Regions from separate parts of the Homo sapiens genome. Here all the other regions are linked to region 3. The links are contacts of gene promoters, found by promoter capture Hi-C in human tissues and cell types (Jung and others, 2019). All regions are on one chromosome and are shown on one strand. Each heading gives the region's core, a stretch centred on a gene start or on the middle of the fragment in contact. The rest is flanking DNA. Distances are from core to core; before and after follow the strand shown. Region 1 holds the start of LOC105376812 (a long non-coding RNA gene). Region 2 has its middle 4.1 kb from the start of LINC01654. Region 3 holds the start of IGSF21 (immunoglobin superfamily member 21).

Evidence for each region. Contacts are between HindIII fragments. The study calls those that stand out against the background at their distance.
Region 1: a fragment that was not itself captured here is called in contact with the fragment with the promoter of IGSF21 in region 3 in 3 of the 25 tissues and cell types used here (dorsolateral prefrontal cortex, liver and spleen).
Region 2: a fragment that was not itself captured here is called in contact with the fragment with the promoter of IGSF21 in region 3 in 4 of the 25 tissues and cell types used here (dorsolateral prefrontal cortex, liver, spleen and 1 more).

Annotation. Positions count from the first base shown.
Region 1 is chr1:18,043,018-18,047,385 of GRCh38, forward strand. LOC105376812 (a long non-coding RNA gene) reads left to right here and starts at 737. Exons shown (of 3, transcript XR_947008.3): 1 at 737-1,538; 2 at 1,868-2,218. The HindIII fragment of the contact is 3,717 bases long and covers 1-3,299 here.
Region 2 is chr1:18,059,355-18,063,666 of GRCh38, forward strand. No RefSeq gene overlaps it. Among named protein-coding and RNA genes, the nearest start is that of LINC01654, 4.1 kb to the right of the region's middle. The HindIII fragment of the contact is 4,771 bases long and covers 1-4,260 here.
Region 3 is chr1:18,105,278-18,109,048 of GRCh38, forward strand. IGSF21 (immunoglobin superfamily member 21) reads left to right here and starts at 2,521. Exons shown (of 10, transcript NM_032880.5): 1 at 2,521-2,921. The coding sequence starts at 2,852. The HindIII fragment of the contact is 17,740 bases long and covers 1-3,771 here.

The DNA of each region.
Region 1 (4,368 bases), core at 191-2,690, 63 kb before region 3:
ACCCAGGGAAGGAAGGTGCCACCTTAAGGGAACTCCCAGGTTGATGAGCACAGGGCTGCAGGGAGAACCCAGACATTAGGACCTGATGGCCTGATGAGGTGGTGGAGGACAGAGCCCATGACCTCCTAGGTACTGAGAGCTCCCAGGCTGAGGAGAAAGCTCCAGCTCTTGTTTCACAGGGAAGTCCCCAGTGAAATAGGGGAAGGAGGACCTACATAAGCACAGGAAGCTCCGACGCAGAAGTCCTCTTCACTCTCAATTCTGCAGTCACCAAACCTGGCACCTCTTACCCATCCCCAGACTTGTGCCAAGGGGTCTCGCAGAGGAGCCTTCCCTACTTTCAATGCTTACTGTGTTGCTTTCAAAGCTTGGTCCCCGCATCTAGTCTGAATTCTCTGACTGCCTTGGGTCCCTCAGAAAGAGACATCTGACCCCACTTCACTTCCACTTAACCTGCACTGTCCCATCCATCCCCATCACCCCTCTCCCCAATTCCACCCCACCCATCTGTACCACCCATCCCTGCAGCTTCTCAGCTCCCTAGTGTCCTCACCTTTGTACATGGCTTCCAGCAATGGAACCCCTGTTTGTGAGCTCATCACTTGTCGAGGGCTGGGCTCCTGATCTCATCAGCTTCATCTCTCAGCTCCTAACACAGTGCCCAGCCACTATGTTTATCTCACATTAGCTACATGGCCCATGTATGTTATCTCATCAATACATAGGAGACCAAGGCTCTGAGAAGCCTGACAACTCGCTCCCCCATCACCCGGGGAATTCTTGTCATCCCTTACGTCACAGCCTAAATGTCCCTTCCTTGGGGAAACTCTCTCTGACATCCCCCACCGCACCCCATCCTCCCCACTCCAATGCAGCATCTTGTGCATCTCTGTAGCACTAATCACAGTGGCATTTAATGAGTTGTTTCTGCAATGGTTTGCTCTCTCCCCACTCATGCATATGCTCCTCAAGGGATGGCAACATGTCTCTATTGTTTACCACCCTGTCCTGAATGCAGGGGCCCTGACTCAGAGAAGACTCCGGGTAATTATTTACCATTTGAAGAATGAATGGCTTCCTAAGTTTGTGCACCTAGAGCTCTCTGGCCTTCAGCTGCTTCATCTGTAAGTAGGCGGAGCCTTAGGTCCCCAGGACTAGCTCACTCTTAAGATGACTTCTCATTCTTAGGTCCTAGAAAATGCTTTTTAAAATTCCATCTTCCTTTCCCAAATGGAAACAACAATGTCATACCAATCAGGTTGGAAAAAAAATGAGAAATTTGGATAATGCCATGTGCTGAGTACCAGTGTCCTCGAAGAAACCTGTCAGTATTCAGGGAAATGAAGTACTGCACGCCTTCTGACCCCACCATCCCACTCCTGGGGAGACTCCGGGGAAACACTCACGTGGTCCCAGTGGGTCACCCACATGGTGGGGCATCGGAGGCAATCTAGTGTCCACCCCTGGAACAGCGGACATCTCTAGAGAAACTCTGCAGCAGTCAGAAACATCGAATGAGATAATGCACAGCAACTCAGGTAGATCTTAAAAACATGGTGTTAAGTGAAAAAATTAAGCAACAGAATGAGATCTATAGCCCAATACAATTTATGTAAATTAAAACACATTCGCACAATAAACAACACCATATATTTTATAGGCACCATCCGTATCTGAGGACATATATTAGAGATTTTAGAGTGGAGCTACAGAGGGGGCAGTCAGGAGGGGCCAGGCAATAGCATCAGGGAGAAGGAGAAAAATCGAACAAAGCAAAACAAGAGTGAGGCTGTGTGAGATCAGGATGTTAATGGATGGTGAGTTGAACGTTGTGTTGGACTTGGACTAATCCAACTCTCTTTTCAAGGTGAATGTAATGACTGATTAACGAACGAAGACTCCACCTTCTCTTCCTCTCGTGGATCCCAGCGAACTTCCAGGGCATGGGTTGGCATAGGTTTGAAGAAGGTTTCTCGGCCTCTGCACTGTCTACATTTTGGGCCCGCTGAGTCTTTGTAGTTGGGGCTGGCCTGTGCATTGTAGGATGTTTAGCAGTTTCCCTGGTGTCCACCTACCAGATGCCAGTTGCACCTACCAAGTTCTGACACCCAAAATGTCTTCAGACATCGCCAAATGTCCCCTGGGGGACAAAAATCACCCCTGGTTGAGAACCACTGGGTTGGAATACAAGCCTGAAAAACCGCTCCCAGTCTGCCAGGTAAGTGACCCACACTTGCTTTACAAAACCCCATGCACGGAGCAACAGAACCTTGGGACCTGGGACTAAGCTTGTAGCTCCGTGTTGAAAGCCTGCAGCGTCACTTGCATTTTAAATCAAGGCTCGGTGGAGATTCCAGTTACAGCCTGCAACTGCATCTGCCTTGGGCTTCCTCCTAATTTTAACCAGCAGCTGGATTTGCATAGGACATTTGCATCTGAAATTACCCATGATTCTTTGGGAGCCATAGTCTACAGCAGATGATGGCAAAAAATATATATAATTCCATTTCAGCTTGCAAAGTAGGGGGGAGGAAGGAGATGAAGACTTCAGGGAGGGAGGGTACTTTAAGAAAATTTCAGTGCTTTATATAATTGGTTAGAGAGGTTGGAAATAGATGCCCTGCTGGTCACTGGCAGAGAGAACTGTCCTGGCAATTCGTATGTGAATTAATGACTCAAAGAGTGAATGCATGAGGTCCCCTGAGACTCCCCCAGGAGCGAGCTACTGACCCAAGTGGAGGCAGGCAGAGGAGAGGGAAGGATGGTGCAGACCTGTGTACAGAACAGCACACAGCCCAGCCCCAGGCCTCCAGGAGCCCAGCCACCCGCTAGCACTGGCCGGCCCGGGAGCCTGCCACATGCCCGAGAGCACTCACTAAGTGCCTTCCCACCGTGGGCCATTTCATCACACAGCCCCACCCCTCTTGATGAAGGCATCGTTCCCCTCATTTAGAAGAGGAGGAGGTGGAGATTCCCAAGTCTCACTCTCAGTAAAGAGCAGAGCCTGAATTGGAAGGAAATTCTGCCAGACTCTAAAACCAGTGCTCCTTCCACTAAGACCCTCAGTGGGTCATTTGCTGACTTGCAAAGTTAATATACAGGCAAAAGCATGGCAGGTCATGCCAACAGGAGCAGACGACCCCTCCTTTACAGTTCAGCAGTTTCTGCTCAACCCAAGATTTGGCCAGGCCTGGGTTCCAGAATGTAAAAGCAGACATCTGCAAGCCATGCCCTAAATTCCAGGTGAGGTGTGTCTGTGCCACATGGGCTAAGGCTTAACTGGCACCTTCCTGGTTGCCATCTGCAGACACCAAGGTTAACCACACCCTCCACTTGCTGCCCCAGGGCCTTGCAGTCCTCTGTGATTGCATTACTTATTCTTTCTACATCTCTCTCCCCTACTAGACCGTAACATCTTGGGGGCAGAGATCATGACCGGCTCATCTATGTCTCTATCCCAGAGCTCCAGAAATATATGTGCTATAAACTGAGCTAATTTGGGGCTGGGAGCAGGAGACTAACCAATCTGTGTCATTCCAGTTGAAATGCTATCTTGTCCAGGAATAGTTTCTTGATTTTCCCAGGAGGAAGTACATCTTAGGTGAGACCTTCCCCTAAGCCATGGGTAGCAGAAGCACTTTCCACCTTGTGCACTTGATCCCCTTGAATATGCTGAAGACTCCTCAAAGGAAAGGGTCTTGCCCAATTGTTTTTGCATTTTCAGTGCCTAGAACAGGGTTTTGCATAGAGGAAATAGAACATGAATGGATAGATGGATGGATGGATGGATGGATGGATGGATGGATAGATGGATAAATAGTTGATGAAAAAGTAAGAAGGCAGGCAGATGGTTGGATAGGCATTTGGTTGAGTGGTGATTTAGTAGTTAAGTGGATAGACAGATAGATGGATTTATGGATGAATTGGAAGATAGACAGATGGATGGATGGAACAAGGGTTTGATGTCTGCGTGTTTGGATGTGAGAGAGTGAGCAGGCCAAAGATGATTGGATGGGTGGGTGCAAGGTTGAGTGGGTAGGTTGATGGTTTGGACGGTGAGTTAAGTGTATATTGGGTGGGTGGTGAAGATCTGGATGGGTAGATCCATGTGGTATAATAGAGTGGCTGGCTGGTGTGGTAATGGTTGCATAAAGACACAAAGTGTCTTTTCACCTTCCAATGTTATGCTCAGACTCCTAAGTAAAACACTTCCTTTGTACTCCTTTTTTCCATATCCTACTTTTAAGTCCTCCTTCCTCTCCCACTCTCTTCCATCCTCCTAAGCAGGAGCTCTAGGATGCCAGATGGAAGCTTCCCAGGGAGTTCAGCTCCAGTCCCTGCCTGTGTGCTAAGCACTCCACATTGTGC
Region 2 (4,312 bases), core at 625-3,124, 47 kb before region 3:
TCTAGCTCTCTCACTGGGTGTTTTGCTGGCACTCTTTGGCATGGCTTGACTCATAAAGGCACCATCCTGCCTGCCTTCGCTTTACGTAGTGTGTGTCTGAGTGTGTGTCTTCTCCATATTTACATTTCCCCATTTTACGAGGGCACCGGTCATGTTGGATTAGGCTTTACTTTGATGACCTCCTTTTAACTTGATTATCTCTGTAAAGACCCTATTTCCAAATAAGCTCACATTTCTGAGGCACTGGGGGGTTAGGACTTGAACACGTGAATTTTGAGGGGATGGGATCCAACCTATAGCACAAGGTGTGGCCCTGGGCAAGTCACATCACCTGTTAGGTCCTGAGAAAGGTTCATCTTGAAAGTGGGGGTAAAAATTGCCACATCCTCAGGGGATTGTTGTAAGGACCGAATGAGACAAGGTGTATAGGTTGGTTAGCCCAAGGCTAGCTATAGTGGAGTTGATAATCATAGCTGCTGTGAATTTCTGCTTGAGGGAGGGGACCATGATCATTGATGCATTTACTCTCAATGGACGAAGTAAAAGGAAAGGTGGAAAGTAAACTGTCAAGCCTCTTGGGGTTCCTCGTTGCTGTAACCTGCCTCCTAGCAAGCCCAATAGGGCTACACTTTTGCCATTCATTCACCAACTCCATCAATCTATTTGACAAGTGCTGTGTGCGTTCTATTTCATTTAATCATTACAAAAGTATTAGGTTGGTGCAAAAGAAATCACAGTTTTGCCATAAAAGTCATGGCCAAAAGTGCCATTACTTTTGCACCAACCTAATATTAATATTATTATTACCAATTAACAGATGAGGAAATTGGGGCTTTGGGTGGTGGCATGGCCTGCTCATAGTTCCACGGCACAAGGAATGGTGGGGGCCGGGATCACTGGTTTGGTGGCGTGTTTGTACGCGCAACTGCAGGGATACCTGCCTGGGGCAGCTTGGCCTTTTCTCTCCGCATGGGCTCCACATATCCTTTGAGCCAGAGCTCCCTGACCGCCTTTGCAGCCCATCCCTGGAGGGAATTCACAGTAGTTATGATTACCAACCCCACTATAGCTAGCCTTGGGCTAACCAACCTACACATTGTCTCATTCAGTCTTTACAACAATCCCCATGGGAACTCACACTCCCGCGTTGTTGGCACTGGGCACTGCGAGCCTTTGGATTGCACCCCAGCACCCAGCCCTGGGTTATAATTTTTTGTATTTATGTCTTTCCTTTGCTTGTCATCAGGCTGTTTATCGGCACGCGGCGACGCATCACTCGTACGTGTTAAATATATATACGTCTCTGTGTGTCTGTGTATGCCTTCCCGGTTCTATTTATGCAGTTCCTCGGAGGATTAATTTAGCCAAATAACCGAAGTTATTTAGGTAGCTGACATTCACACTGGAAAGAGAATGTGGGAACGAAGTCAGCGAGGCACTGGCTCTGTTCCCAGGCCCCCCGGACTCAGTTTCCTTCAAATTAAGGTCTGGTGTGGTGGAAAGTGCAGGAGCTCATCTAGTCAAATGTTCTAAACCAGGCCCTGTGATGGTGAGCTATGGATGCTGGGAAAAGTCCAAAGCTGAGCCTCAGTTTGTTCAGCTAAAAAGAGGCCTTTTTTTCTTACAGAGAACATGCAAGCTTTGATTGATTTAATGAATTTAAAGCTTTTTGTTCACTGTAGGCATTTATTTGTTAGTGGCACTCTCTCCTCTTTATGTCTCTGTGTCTGTGCCAAGTGATGCGTAAGATGAAATGGAAATTCCCGGCCGGGCGGAGTGGCTTATGCCTGTAATCCCAGCACTTTGGGAGGCCGAGGCAGGTGGATCATAAAGTCAGCAGTTTGAGACCAGCCTGGCCAATATGATGAAAACCCTTCTCAGCTAAAAATACAAAAAGTAGCCGGGTGTGGTGGGGCATGCCTGTAGTCCCAGCTACTCAGGAGGCTGAGGCAGGAGAATCACTTGAATCTGGAAGGTGGAGGTTGCAGTGAGCCGAGATCACACCACTGCACTCCAACTAGGCAACAGAGTGAGACACCATAAAATAAATAAATAAAATAAAATAAAATTCCTTGTGTTGGCACCTGAGGTCCTTGGTATTCTGACATTCTGATCCTTGTTGATCTTCCTTTCTCTGGAAGTGTTACTCTCACTGTGCCTGGACATGATATAATTCAGTTGGGATGGTTGATGTTGCTGGTGCCCTTTTAAGTCTCTTCCTGGAGCTCATCGTTCCTGTGTATGGTGACTCTATGGCTTCTACAAGCCAGCATACTGGAGGGCTTTCTTTGGTGGTCAGATCCCAACTCACATGCCAAAGGGGCAGGCTGGAGGTGGGAGCAGCTTCCACACAAAACAACCCCCAACCACCAAAGTAGGAAAATGGTACATACACACCCCAGTCGTTCATTCATCGAATAACTCACAGGCCTGTTCTGTGCTCTCACCTGCTGCTTCCCAGCAGGCTGGAACTCTGGTTGCCCCCTGCGGAAACCTGCTCCATAACACTCTTAGTTGGCTTCCTTCTCTTCTCTTCCATGTTTCACTCCCTCATTCTCCTACAGGTGTGTCTGGAAGCCACTTCAAAGTAAACTCTATGCACTCAAATCCTTGTCTTAGGGTGTCCTTTTGGAAAATCCCAACCTAAGACAAGGTAGGATTGTGAGCATTAATGGTCTGAACTCTGGGGTACAACCACCTGTCTTTGAATTCTGCTTCAAGAGTCAGTGAGAAGTTATTTAGCCTTTCTGAGCCTCAGTTTCTTCATTTGTAAAGTAGGGCCAGTAATGACAGTACCTGACCCAACAGAGGCATGAGATAAACCACAGAGATAGACAGGGTCCTGTCCCTCTCTGGCCACTTACCCTACTTCAGTTTGTTCCAAAACTCCCTTCACCCAGTTCACCTTGGGGATTCCATTATTTGTTGATTTGCACATTGTCTTCTTCACATAGACTGTCCCCACCTCATCTAGATGATCAATGTTGTGAGTGGGGGTCTCTGTCACTCTTGTTCACTGCTGTTTCTCAGGACCATGGACAGCGCCAAGCCCACTCTACTTTCCCAGCATGATCAGATCTCTCATTGCTCTCTCAGTGGCCCCCACGAGTGCTTTACCCATTCCTGGCTCTGATTTTGCTCTAGCACACTTCCTAGCACCTTGGATTCCTGTTCTATCCAACTCTATCCTTTTTTTTTTACTTTTTTTTTTTTTTTTTTTTGAGACGCAGTCTCGCTCTGTTGCCCAGGCCGGAGTGCAGTGGCGCCATCTCGGCTCACTGCAAGCTCCGCCTCCCGGGTTCACGCCATTCTCCTGCCTCAGCCTCCCGAGTAGCTGGGACTACAGGCGCCCGCCACAGCGTCCGGCTAATTTTTTGTATTTTTAGTAGAGACGGGGTTTCGCTGTGTTAGCCAGGAAGGTCTCGATCTCCTGACCTCGTGATCCACCCGCCTCGGCCTCCCAAAGTGCTGGGATTACAGGCGTGAACCACCGCGCCTGGCCCAACTCTATTCATTCTTTATAGCTCAGGAAGTGATCTCACTCTTGGTCATGGCTGACTGGATCTGGGATCAAGGCCTGAACCAAAATCATCCGCCTGTAGGCTGATGGGAAGCCTGTGAGTTGGCCTGGGTTGGGGGTTCAACCCCAGCCTAGCAACAATAAGTCACTGGTATTGAGCACATTCTGCACACCAGGCACAGCACTGAGCACTCCACCACACAATCTTCCTAACTCACAGCTGTCCTTTGAGGCTGGTGCTGTTATTATCATGCCTCATTTCATAGATGTGAAAACAGACTTGGGGAGCTTACACAACTTGCCTGATGTTAGGATTTGAATCAGATCTGTCTGACTCCAGAGCAGTCTCTAGGAATGCCTCCCTATCTTCTCCTTTGGGGTGGTAATTAACTAAAGCTCTCCATTCCTCCTTCTTGAACCATGAAGTTCGTAGTGCCCCTGCCCGCAAATGTGTGTATGTGTGCGTGTGTGTGTGTGTGTGTGTGTATGTGTGCATGAAAGAAAGAGAGAGAGAGAAAGAGACACTCAGGGAATGGGGAAGAGCAGATGTGGCCAAAAAGTGAGGTAAGAAGGCTGGAAGCTGAAGCCAGAGGTGAATAGATGTCTTAAGAGCAGGGACAAAGAGCTGAGAAAAGAGGAGCAACAGAAAGGAAAGATCTGAGCTATGGGGATGGTGCCTATGGGGATGGTCCAAGCCTTGCCCCATGACTGTGACCTTTCGATCTCTCACTGGGCACCCAGCAAGTGCCAGGCACCAACACTGAGCAAAGCTCTCATTCTCCACAAGGCCTG
Region 3 (3,771 bases), core at 1,271-3,770:
GATGGGCCCAGTCAGAATATGTGATCCTGGCGCTCCAAGGAGGTTCACTGCCACAGGACGCCTACCAAGTGCCAGACTTGTGCAAGGAGCTGAGGAACAGAGTGGATAAGACTGAATGACCTACCCTCATTCATTCATTCATTCATTCATTCATTCACGCATTCATCCAACTGGTATTTATTGAGGATCCACTATGTGTCAGGCACTGGCTAGGCATAATAATAATTATAATACAGGGTGATGTTAAAGAGAATTGAGGTGATTCAGAAGTCTTGGGGCTGAAGGAGATCTCCAACACACCAGCCCCAATCCTTGGTCCTAGGAAGCAACCCTCCCTTGGCTGTTAGGCCTGCTTTCCTCCTCACTAGCATATCCTCAGATGCCATTCTCTAGCTCCTTCTGCTGGCTCTCTTTTCTAGCTGGTGTGAACCATGGCTGGGAAGAAACATCACTAAGGGGCCCTGGAATCCCACCTGCTCCCTGGCCCTCATCTCCAAGGGCTGGGCTGCAGGGAGCGCAGCCAGGAAGCCCCACCAATTCAGGGTTCACCTGAGGAACTGATGCTGTCCACCTGCCTAGCTGCACGCCGATTTGCAGCTGGGGCCAGAGAGTAGGAATGCCCACACAGCGATGCTTGGCATTTCCCTGCACAACTCAGACCAGCACAAGGAACCGCATGAACCTGATGCTGTTCCCCAGCCAGGGAGCCCCTTCCACAGAGGATTTAGAACCTGGGATGGACTTTTGGGTTTGTTGACTTTTTCTTGGGTCAGAGTGGGGAGGGAGGGCCAGGGAGGAGGCAGTAAGGGACTGTGCCCTGCAGCCTGAGAAGAAGGTGAGGGGGAGAGGTGACCTCAAGCTGACCCTCAGCAGCCTGGAGAAGGGGAGACCTGGGTGGATGCGAGTGAGAGGGAGCAAAGAACAGCAGCCAAAGGGAGAAGAAAGGACCTAAGACTCCAGTGTTCATCAAGTGTTCAAGCCATATGCAGTCCAATCAACCTGGAACCAATTAGTCTGATTCACAAAAAAAAAAAAAAAAAAAAAAAAAAAAAATCCCACTTAGGGACAAACTGTAATCAAACACCTATTTATAAGGGTTTATTATGATCATTATTATTATTTTACTGAGAGGATCATTCTAAAGCCTGTCAGGTGAACGTATGCTTTCAGATCTTCATAAATGCAAATCGCTCCTTCTGGGGTGGGTGAGCAAGCTGAGCCGCAGAGCTGCCTTGGGAGGCGATGGGGTGAGGTTCCAGAGGGCAGGAGGAGGGAGCAGTTCACTTTCATGGACATCTCTGCACAAAGCTCACCCAGAGGCAGCCCAGCAACCACCCATTGCCCACCCCACTCCCTACACTCCTCTCAGAGGGCTGCTGGAGATGGAACTGGCTATAGACCCATTGCCCATGTAGGTAAACGATGCAACAGCCTGACTCAGCAACCTGCCAGAGCTAGGGAAGCTGGAGATTCTCCATAGAAGGCCTGGGTAAAGGGACCCACCTGAGTTCTGAGCAGGTTTTGCCCCTGGTCGTGCTGGTTTTTCTGGGCTTTGCCAATCTTCTGGGTCCCTACCAATGGTGAAATTCTATCTCCTGAACTTCCTCATCTAACCACATCCCCAGTCCACTCCAAGGGCTAGAGTACCCCTCCCCTTCATCCTCGCAGGAGGCCTCAAAGTCCACCGCCAGGGCTGAGGCTCAATGGTGTGTGTGTGTGTGTGTGTGTGTGTGTGTGTGTGCTCGCGTGTGTGTTGGTGGGAGAGTAATGGTAACATACAAGTCCCAAACCTGTTCTTCTCGGACCTGGGAAGAAAAGCTGTCAGGTCTGGCAAAAAGGTGGAAACTTGGTCTCTGCCAGGAGGAAACAATCAGTTCCTCACCCTTCCTGGCTGGATCCTAGCACATGGGAAAAAGACAGAACACACCCCATTTCCGTGGGTCCCTGGGGGAAGGAGCAGCCGTAATTGGGGAAGTTTCAGAACATGGAAACCCCTTAATCTTGCCCAATGAGGGCATTCATCGTTGGCAAGGTCAGAACTCCAGAGCCACACCCTGCCTGCCCTGCTCCCAGGATGGCATCTTTCCCTCTCGGGAGGGAGGCTGCCTCCTTTCATCAGGCTGAGTAGCGGGGAGGGCGATGGTAATCCCGGGGATAGGAGGGGCTAGGTAAAGGCGGATCCGATGGAGCATAGCTTCCAGGGCGGGGTGTTGGGTCACCTGGGTAAGGGTTAAGAAGCTGGAGGCAGCAAGCCAGTTTTGAGTGAGGGGGGACCTGAGTGAGGGGAGAGGGGAGGTTAGGAGGGGGTGAGCTCTCCTTCTCCCTGCAATAAATCGGCTTAGCGGACGAGAGCCGAACAGCCCAGAAAGGATTAAAGAAAAGTCTGTATAATACGCGGAGAGCGCGGCGAGGGGAGGGCAAGGAGGGCGGGGGGGCGGGGAGAGGGGGAGGGACGGAGGGAGGGCGAGAGGAGGGGGGTGCTCGCGCCGCCGGGAGAGGCGAGCGCGAGGCAGAGAGCGCGATTCGGCTCCAAACTCCGGCGCTGCAGCCGATCGGACTCTGGGCCGCGGTGGGCACCGCGCGCAGCTAGGGAGCCGAGAACCGCGGCGAGCCCCGAGGACGCCCAGAGCGCGAGGGTCGCTGCGCCTCGCAGAGCCGGAGCCGAGTCGAGCCGGGCGCCCGGGCTGCCTGGCCGCGGCGGCATGGGGGCGCCCCCGCGGCTCTCCGCGCTGCCCGCCACCGCCTCGGCCAGTGGCCGGAGGCAGGAGCGCGTCTGAGCCCATGGCGAGGGGACCCGCCGCCACCGCCTCCACCCCCGCCGCCCCGCCACCGCCGCCAGCTCCCGGGCACCATGCGAACCGCCCCGAGCCTCCGCCGCTGCGTCTGCCTGCTGCTCGCCGCGATCCTGGACCTGGCGCGCGGTGAGTGCGCGGGCGCCTGGCGGGAGCCGAGCGGTGAACGTGCGCGGGGACGGGGTGCCGGGGGAGGGCGCTGGCCGGGGTCGCTCCGAGAGGCTCGGGCTACGAGCACCGGTCCTGCCCGGGGTCTGTGGAGCTGGTTGGCTCGATGAGGGAGGGAGGACGCCTCTTGGAGAGCGCTCATGGATTTGTGCCAGGGTGTGTGTGTGTGTGTAAATTGTGTGTCTTTGTTGTGTGTCTGGGTGAGGGTGTCCGGGAAGGAGCTGTGTGGGCAGAAGGTGCGGGAGTGTATTTAGAGATGCAAGTGTGTGTGTGCGTGTGTGTGTGATGGTGTGGGGTCTGCGTGTGAGTGAGCGAGGGTCTGGATGGGTGTTAGAGTGTCTGTGTCAGTTACATGGAGAAGGTGTGTGTGTGAGAGTGTGAGCGAATGTTGGGGGGAGGGTGTGAACATGTGCCACCTTCCCTGTGAGGGTGTGAAGTGTGTGAGCTTGTGTCACTGTGGGTGTGAGGTGTTAGGGGGTGGGTATGTGAGGTTTGGCGTTTCACGTGTGTCCCGAGTGTGCAGGTCTCTAGGGGTGTACGACAGCGGATTACTATTTCTGTGTGCACAGGAGATGGGACTGTGACACTGGACAAGAGTCTGCTTATGTGGGATGGGTGGGGGTGCAGGTGCCTGGGAGTCGTGGGCTTCATGGGGCTGGGAGTGTGTGTATGCGTGCCATGGAGCGTGTGGTTATCGTGTGCAGGGAGGTATGGACGCTTCCGGGGCTGGGGAGTTGTGAGCAGCTCAGTGTGTGTGTGTGTGTGTGTGTGTGTGTGTCCCGCCGTGTGGACTTGCTCCCGGGTTAGGCTA